Regions from separate parts of the Homo sapiens genome. Here region 1 is linked to region 2. Evidence: promoter capture Hi-C in 16 types of primary human blood cells and fetal thymus (Javierre and others, 2016). All regions are on one chromosome and are shown on one strand. The core of a region is centred on a gene start or on the middle of the fragment in contact, and the rest is flanking DNA. Distances in the headings are between cores, read along the strand shown. Region 1 overlaps MIMT1 (MER1 repeat containing imprinted transcript 1). Region 2 holds the start of FPR1 (formyl peptide receptor 1).

Region 1 (4,474 bases), core at 99-2,598, 5.1 Mb after region 2:
TGGAGAATTCTTGGGCCAGTGTTTCTTTAAATAGAACTTTTCTGCCATTCCATTTCTACTCTTTTCAACCTATAAAGTATAATGACCCGTCTTAATCCATCCTCCATTTGTCTCAATCTTTCTGTTTTTCATACTGTTTTCTGTGCTTTCTGAGTAACTTCTCTTTTTAACTGCATCTGGTAATAGCATTTCCCTAGATGTTTTAAATACAGTAACTATGTTTTCTGTTCTATGATTTCCAATTGGTACTTTTTTTATATCTACCTTTCTCAAATGGATGAACATTTTATGGACACTATTCTTTATTTCTTCAAAAATCGTAAAGTCACACTAACACTATTTGAATTGCATTTTGAAAGGACTGAATTCATGTCTTGATTGCTAGTTTTGCTGTCTTGTTCATTTTAAGATTTCCTAACTTTAACCCAGTGCTTTGCAAGTTTAGTTTCTAAGTGTTTTTCCTATGGGTTATCTTTTCCCCTCCTCTCTGAACTTTTCTTCCCTCCATGTCTTTTTGGCTGTCTCTACCTCACCCATGAGAAGCACAGTCCAGAGACAATCTTGTATTGTCAACTGGGGATTTTGTGCCATGTGACAAAAGGGGTGTATTAGTCACTGAGCAAGATTAAAGCTTAGGCTGGGTCCTCTCTGCATGGCTTTGTTTTTTCACCCCCTGCCACCACTCGTAAGTAAAAAACCTGGGTATCCATCACTGTTTGTTGTTGTTGTTGTTTTTCCAGGCTCCTTTTATGTCAGGAGAGTCCAAATCCAGTACCTGTTTGCCACAATGAGCCTGGGACCTCAACATGCATGGAGTGCTTCCGGACCTCATTACCCAAGAGCAGTCAGATTTTTAATTTCCTCTGCCTTTTTCAAGATCATTAGTTCAGAAGGTTTATGTTTTCAATTCCACATATCCTTGCATTTTTCTTTCAAGTTTTGACCCATATGGATATCTTAAATATTCCTATTATTGCAAGTTTATATTAAAAGGAGGTTAAATTGTGAACTCACAAACTCATAGCATCATAGCACCATCTCAATCAAAAGTATTATCTTCTGTGAACTACAACAGTTTTCACTTCTTTCGCAAGTGTGGAGTGACGTTTGCCTGAGGCTGTATGACCTGTGATATCATGACAAATTGAAGGCCAAAGCAGATGCGAATCCAGCTGTTTTCTATTAAGTCAAATGCCAAGGAGATTTACAAAGATGTAAAATAATGCGCCTCTTCTCAATAACCTTTGGTTTTGAAAATTGTTATTTTTCATAAAAAATGTTGCTTCCATTAACCTGTAATAGGTTTACTACCATTATTTTAAATAAAATACACATTTCAAATGGCTTAATTTTTTCTTAAGATATAATTGATAAGTAAAAATTGTATATATAGTGTACAACATGGTGTTTCAATATACATATACATTGTAAAAGGATATCAAGCTAATTAACATATCTATCACCTCACTATTTTTGTGTGTGAAGAACACTTAAGATCTACTCTGTTAGCAATTTTCAAGTATAAACTATAGTCACCATACTGTGCAACAGATCACCAGGACTTTTTAATCCCATCTAACCGAAATTTTGCACCCTTTGGCCAACATCAGCTCATCTCCTCTGACCCCTGACAACCACCATTCTACTCTCTACTTGTATGAGTTCAACTTTTTTAGATTCCAAATATAAATGAGATCATGCAGTGTTTGTCTTACCGTAATGTCCTCCAGGTTTATCCATGTTGTCATAAGTGACAGCATTTCCTTCTTTTTAAAGGCTGGAAAAGTATGCCATTGTACATATATTCATTTTATTTATCCATTCATCAATCCATGGACAATTAGGTTGATTCCACATCTTGGCTAATGTGAATAATGCTGCAATGAACATAGAAGTGTATACTGATTTTGTTTAGATATGTAGCCAGAAGTGAGATTGCTGGGTCATACGGTAGTTTTACTTTTTTTAAATGAATTTCCATACTGTTTTCCATAATGGCTATATTAATTTACGTTCCCACCAACAATGTACACAGGTTCCCTTTCTCCATATCTTTGCCAACACTTGAAGCTTTTTAGTTTGATTCAATCCCTTTTGTCTATTTTTGCTTTTTCTGCCTGTGCTTTTAAAGTCTTATCCAAAAATCATTGGTCAGACCAATGACAAGAAGTTTCTTCCGTTACGTTTTCTCCCATTAGTTTCACAGTTTCAGCTCTTAAGTCTTTAATCCATTTTGAGTTGATTTTGTAATATGGTGTGTCTAATTTCATTCCTTCATATATGGATATCTAGTTTTCCCCACCCACTTATTTAAAAAAAAGTCCTTTCCCTGTTGTGTGTTCTTGACACTTTTGTCAAAGATTGACTGACTATAAATTACGGGATCTATTTCTGGGCTATTTTGTTCTATTGGTCTCTATGTCTGGTTTTATGCCAGTATCATGCTGTTTTTATTACTGTAGCTTTATACTCAATTTTGAAATCAGGTAGTGTGATGCCTTTCCAGCTTTGTTCTTTTTGCTGAAAGTTTGGTTATTTGGGGTATTCTGTGGTTTCTTATGAGTTTTAGGAGTATTTTTCTATTTCTGTGAAAAATGACACTGGAATTTTTTTATGGAAATTGCGCTGAATCTACACATCACTTTGGGTAGTATGGAGATTTTAACAATAGTTTCTAATCCATGAACACCAGATATTTTTCTATTTGTGTCTTCAACTTCTTTCATCAAAGTCTTATAGTTTTCAGTGAACAGGTTAATTTTATTTTATTATATTATATATATTATAAATTCTGGTTAAATTTATTCTTAAATAATTTGATGGTACTGTAATAATTTGATGGTACTGTAAATGGAATTGTTTTCTTGATTTCTTTTTCAGATGGTAGTAGTACCTGGAAACAATATTGGTTTTTACTGCAACTTTACTGAATTTGTTTATTAGTTTAACAAGTTTTTGGTGGCATCTTTAGGGTCTTCTATATATAAGACCACATCATCAGCAGAGACAATTTCACTTCTTCTGTTCGAATTTGTATGCCTTTCGTTTTTCCTTATCTTGCTCCTGATCTTAAAGGAAAACCTTTCTGTCTTCTACCACTGATAGTGATGTTAGCTGTGGGCCTGTCATATATGACCTTTAATATTTCGAGGTATGTGCCTTCTATACATAATTTGTTGAGTTTTTATCATGAAAGGAAGTTAAATTTTGTCAGATGCTTTTTCTGCATCAATTGAAATTATCACATTTTCTATGCTTAATTTTGTTAATGTGGTGTATCACATTTACTTATTTGTGTATGTTGAACCATCCTTACATCCCAGTGATTAATCTCACTTAATCATAGCGTATGATCCTTTCAATGAGCTGTTGAATTTAGTTTGCTAGTTATTGTGTTAAGGATTTTTGCGTGTATGCTCATCAGAGATATTGGCCTGTAATTTTCTATTTTTGTAGTGTCTTTGCCTGGCTGTGGTATCAGGGTAATGCTGACCTCATAAAATGAGTTTAAAAGTTTTCCCTCCTCTTTAATTTTTGGAAGAGTTTGAGATGGCTGGGTGTTAATTCTTCCTTAAATATTTGGTAGAATTCACCAGTGAAGCAATCAGGTACCAGGCTTTTCTTTGTTGGGAGGTTTTTGATTATAGATTCAATCTCCTTACTCTTTATTGATCTGCTCAGAACTTCTATTTCTTCATGATTCAGTTTTGGTAGCTTGTATGTTTCTAATAATTTGTTCACTTCTAGGTTATCCAATTTGTTGGTGCATACTTGTTCATAGTAGTATCTTATGATCCTTTGCATTTCTGTGCTATGTCTCCTCTTCCATTTATAATTTTATAATTTATAATTTATTTTATAATTTATAATTTATAATTTTATAATTTTGAGTTTTTTCTTAGCCTAGCTAAAGGTTTGTCAATTTTATCTTTTCAAAAAACCAGATTTCACTATTATGATCATAGTTTCGTTGATTTTTTCTATTGTTTTTCTATTCTCTATTTCATTTATTTTTGCTCTGATCTTTATCTTTCCCTCTTTCTCTAGATTTTGGGCTTAATTTGTTCATCTTTTTCTAGTTTCTTGAGGTGTAAAGTTAGGTTCTTTGAGATCTTTGTTTTTCTTAATATAGAATTTAACACTATAAACTTCCCTTTTAGAATTGCTTTCTCTGCATCCCACGTTCTGGCATGTTGTGTTTCCATTTTCATTTGTCTCAAGATATTTTTTATTTCCCTTATGATTTTTTCTTTGACCTACTGGTTGTTCAGGAGTGAGTGTGTTAATTTCCACATGTTGTTTTCCAATTTTCCTCATTATTGATTTCTAGTTTCATACCATTATAGTCAGAAAAGATACTTCATATAGACATCAATCTTCTTAAATTTGTTAAGGCTTGTTTTGTGGCCTAACATATGATTTGTCCTGGAGAATGTTCCTTGTGTGCTTGAAAAGAATGTATATTCTTCTGCAG
Region 2 (4,698 bases), core at 1,133-3,632:
CATCCATTGGATGGGCTCAGCACTCTTGGGGATGTAGAAGACCGTGATAGAAATAATAGTCCAAATATGTATTGGATATGACATTTCATTAGATCAGGTATGCAAAGTGCATGTCAGGTTCTTGCTGAGAGCTGGCCTTCTCTCTTTTTTTTAATTTATTTTATTTTATTTATTTATTTATTTTGAGATGGAGTCTCTCTCTATCACCCAGGCTGGAGTGCAGTGGCGTGATCTGAGCTCACTGCAACCTCCGCCTCCCAGGTTCAAGCAATTCTCCTGTCTCAGCCTCCTGAGTAGCTGGGATTTCAGGTGCACGCCGCCGTGCCTGGCTAATTTTTCTTTTTAATTGTATTTTAGTAGACATGGGGTTTCACCATGTTGCCCAGGCTGGTCTCAAACTCTTGAGCTCAGGCAGTCCACCTGCCTCAGCCTCCCAAAGTGCTAGGATTACAGGTGTGAGCCACTGCGCCCGGCCTGGTCTTCTCTTCTAATGCTTGCAGCAGCCTTCCTCAAAATTGTTACTATGAGGGTCACTGTCTTTATGGTACCCATTTTGCAGACGAGGAAAGTGCGACTTAGAGCATTTCAGTTAATTCCTTAAAGTCACCCAACAGCCCAGGCTGTCGAATTCCAGCAAAAGTCTCTTTCTGCCTCTGCCCTGCCACGCTACTGGCACAGAAGAGCTGTCTAATGCACTAGTCACTCACCACATGTGGTTTTCAAGCACTTGAATTGTGGCTAGTCCAACTGGAGACAGGCTGTAGGAGTAAAATACCCATCAGATTTCAAAGACTTAGTATGAAAAAAATATTGTGACCATCTCATTAATAGTTTTTATATTGACTACATGTTAAAATGATAATAATTTGGCTATTTAAGTTTAGGTTAGATATTTTATTAAAATTAAGTTCGCATGTTTCTCTTCACCTTTTTAAAGTGCCTACTTGACACTTTGAAATTACATATGTGTCTCACATTTCTAATGAACTTTGATACTCTACAATCTCAGAAACAACTCAGAGATGTCTCCCTCCCCTACCACCCATCCAACCACCAAAATACCCTGAGGACTCTTTGTCCTCAAGAATCTCTAAGGCAACCAGTTCAGAAGATTGTTGCAATGAATGATGAGGATTCTGCAATAATGAGCTGGAACATACCAGAGAGGAAAACCTGTGCAATTTTGTCCAATTATGGTTCAAGGGAAAAATCCTGTGATTTGCAATGAACACAGGCCTTGGTGGCTGCCATCGATGAAGGACTTTATGCTTGATAATCATTGTACCACATCCTCAACTTTCTTGCCTCTGATCTCAACAAACTCAGCATTGATTATACATCATCATCCCTGTGTGACGGAAGAGGAAACTAGGAGCTTGATGAGAAATGACAGCCAATGTCTGCAGATTCATGAGAGGGCAGGGCTGTATTCCGCTACTGGGTCCTATGCACCATGCAGAACCAGTGTCTTCACGTGGAGACTCATCACTGATCCGAAAGGTGACTGCTTCTGTATTACACTCATTTCCCCATGACCCATCATAAAGTCGTTAGGGCTCTTTTGCTTTCTCCTGAAAGCTTCAAACCAAACATCCTTTCCCATCCCGACTCAAGCCCTCAAGCTGATGCCCTTGCCTCTTGCTCCACCAGATTCTCCTCCTGCTGGCTCCTGCATCACTGTTCTCTGCCCTCATCTCTGTAACCAGAAAACAAGTGTTTCCATCCAAGAATTACCCTCTACTGGTCCCATAAAACTCATTCCCCCATTTACTCAAGAACTTCCCTCCTTCACTTATCCCTTCTCTCTCCTGCAGCCTCATAGTGTCTCTATATTCCATCATTCCCATCAGGACCCCAATAAAGTCTAGAGCCTATTTGTTTATTTATTTATTTACTTATTTATTTGAGATGGAGTCTCACTCTGTCACCTAGGCTGGAGTACAGTGGTGCAATCTGAGCTCACTGCAACCTCCACCTCCCAGATTCAAGCAATTCTCCTGCCTCAGCCTCCCAAGTAGCTTGAATTACAGACGCCCACCACCACGCCTGGCTAATTTTTGTATTTTTAATAGAAGTGAGGTTTCAACATGTTGGCCAGGCTGGTCTCGAACTCCTGACCTCAAGTTATCCACCTGCCTTGGCCTCCCAAAGTGCTGGGATTACAAGCATGAGTCACCGTGCCCGGCCTGTTTAGAACCTCTTTAAAAAAATTATTCTTCAACTCCACATCCTTCTTCAAACAAAGAGTCTATTGTGTTCACCAGTGTATTAAGTGTGTCTATGTCAAGCTACCCAGTCCCCCAGAATATGTTTCTTACCTGGACTGTTCACCAGCTGTGGTCTTGCTCTGGGTAGTTCTAGGTCTGGGTCTCCTGGGGAGAGTGACTCAGGCTCTAATGATTGCAGCAAAACATACACCAAGGAACAGGAGGAGGGGTAAAGGAACTAAAACCAGCTGGGTAGCAGGAAATAGGAAGTCTGAGCTTCTTCTGATTTTTGATGGCCCCAAGAATACACCAATATACTGTCTGCTTTAATGGCATTAGGACAGTGGGCTGGGCCTGTTTAGAAACTCATGTACCTGACTGTATTTCTCAGCCTCAGTCTCTGTGGGATGCAGAGGTTCAGTGCTCTCAACAACAAGGGCCAAGAAATCCAAGTGTCCGGGCCCCTGCTCCCTCCAAGGGTCAAGGTAAAGAAAGCAGCAAGCACTGTGGTGAGAAGAATCAGAGGGAGGCAATGAAAGGAAGAGAAGAAGTCATGAGGGATGGAGACCAGAAACACAGAGAGAGGTAAGGGAGTGGGGGAAGTTGAGACAGTTGGCAGGACAGCGCGTCCACACCCATGCACACCACCAAGATTAACCCCATAATCCTCTGATCTTGTGGAAGCTCATTTGTAGTCTTCTAGCCCAAAGAAATAACCGTTTTTCTGAAATGTTAAGCATCCTTCCAAGGGTATCAGAGTGATATGGAGAAATATGGTAAGACAGTTACAGAATCAGAGATAACGACACTGATTCTAAAAGCATTATTACCAAGGCATTGTTGCATTAAGACTGTTTTTTCTTTTCTTTTAGAGACAGTATCCTGCTACGTTGCCCAGGCATGTCTCAGACCCCTGGGTTTAGTGATCCTCCTGCCTCAGCCTCCCCAAATGCTGGGATTACAGGCATGAGCCGGGCTGTTTTTAATTCTAAGTAATTTATAATTTACAATTACACCTAACAATGGCTTCAACAAGGGGTGTCCAATCTTTTGCCTTCCCTGGGCCACACTGGAAGAAGAAGAATTGTCTTGGGCCACACATAAAATACACTAACACTAACGATACCTGATGAGCTAAAAAAAAAAAAAAAAAAAAAAATCCCCCAAAAATCTGATAATGTTTTAAGAAAGTTTATGAATTTGTGTTGGGCTGCATTCAAAGCCATCTTAGGCCATGGGCTGGACAAGCTTAGCTTAGAACCAAGACGAAATTTATGGTTTACTTTACAAGAATTTTGCAAGAGGGTAATACTAGGTTAGGTTATATCTGGAAAATATCATCAAGAACTACATTCATTTTAATCTTTTCTCTTTTTTATCCCTAATATGGTGACTTTTTTTCCTGGGGATTGCCACTTCATGGCTCCAAGAAAGCTACCACAGCTCCTGACTTCACATTACAGCAGGGGTCCCCAACCTCCAGGCCATAGACCAATACACAGACCGATACCGGTCTGTGGCCTGTTAGGAAGTGGGCTGCACAGCAGGTGACTGGCAGGTGAGCAAGAGAAGCTTCATCTGTATTTATAGCCACTCCCCATTGCTGGCATTACTGCCTGAGCTCTGCCTCCTGTCAGATTAGTGGCGGCATTAGATTCTCATAACAGTGTGAACCCTACTGTGAACTGTGCATGCCAGGGATCTGGGTTGTGTGCTCCTTATGAGAATCTAATGCCTGATGATCTGTCACTGTCTCCCATCACTCCCAGATGGGACTGTCTAGTTGCGGGAAAGCAAGCTCAGGGCTCCCACGGATTCTACATCATTGTGAGTTGTATAATTATTTCATTGTGTATTACAATGTAATAATAATAATAGAAATAAAGTCTACAATAAATGCAATGTGCTTAAATCATCCTGAAACCATCTACCCCGCCACCCCATGGAGAAATTGTTTTTTATGAAACTGGTCCCTGGTGCCAAAAATGTTGGGGACTGCTACACTCCAGCATCCCACACCAGGAGGATGGGGATGAGATGGAGAATCACTGAAGATCTTTAATCAGAAGGGTGATATGTTCATTTGTACTTTATAAACATTTGTGTTTGTATTTTATAAACATTTTCTTGGGATCATAACAACAGATGCATTTTAGAAGATTCCCAAGGTATGAAGGGTAACAAATGAAGACGTGCCTAGGAGTCACATGGAAGCCAACACTTTGTAAGGGGATTAAAATAAAGGGAATGGCAGAGGACATCATTATGCACAGAGGAGAAGGGCCCAAATGTCAAGAGAAAACAAGAGACAAGGGACTCCACAGAGAGTAATTGCCAGAAAAATTTGTAGGTCTTTTGAAGTCTGACTGTTCTTCCTAAAACGGGGGTCCTGGGACACCCCTACCTGTTTCCCATGAGCCCTCTTTTCTAAAACATAAGTAGGTTTTCTTCCTGGCTACCAAATGGCCTGTGATTAGCACACTAGGTTGGG

What was found. Contacts are between HindIII fragments. The CHiCAGO score rates a contact against its expected background, and 5 or more counts as called.
Region 1: a contact is called between a fragment that was not itself captured here and the fragment with the promoter of FPR1 in region 2, in 1 of 17 cell types (activated CD4 T cells). The highest score is 6.1, in activated CD4 T cells.

The regions. Positions count from the first base shown.
Region 1 is chr19:56,847,212-56,851,685 of GRCh38, forward strand. It overlaps MIMT1 (MER1 repeat containing imprinted transcript 1), which reads left to right. Exons shown (of 2, transcript NR_024059.2): 2 at 741-1,345. Among named protein-coding and RNA genes, the nearest start is that of MIMT1, 8.5 kb to the left of the region's middle. The HindIII fragment of the contact is 1,439 bases long and covers 630-2,068 here.
Region 2 is chr19:51,749,496-51,754,193 of GRCh38, forward strand. It overlaps FPR1 (formyl peptide receptor 1), which reads right to left and starts at 2,383. Exons shown (of 2, transcript NM_002029.4): 1 at 2,319-2,383. The HindIII fragment of the contact is 1,877 bases long and covers 1,577-3,453 here.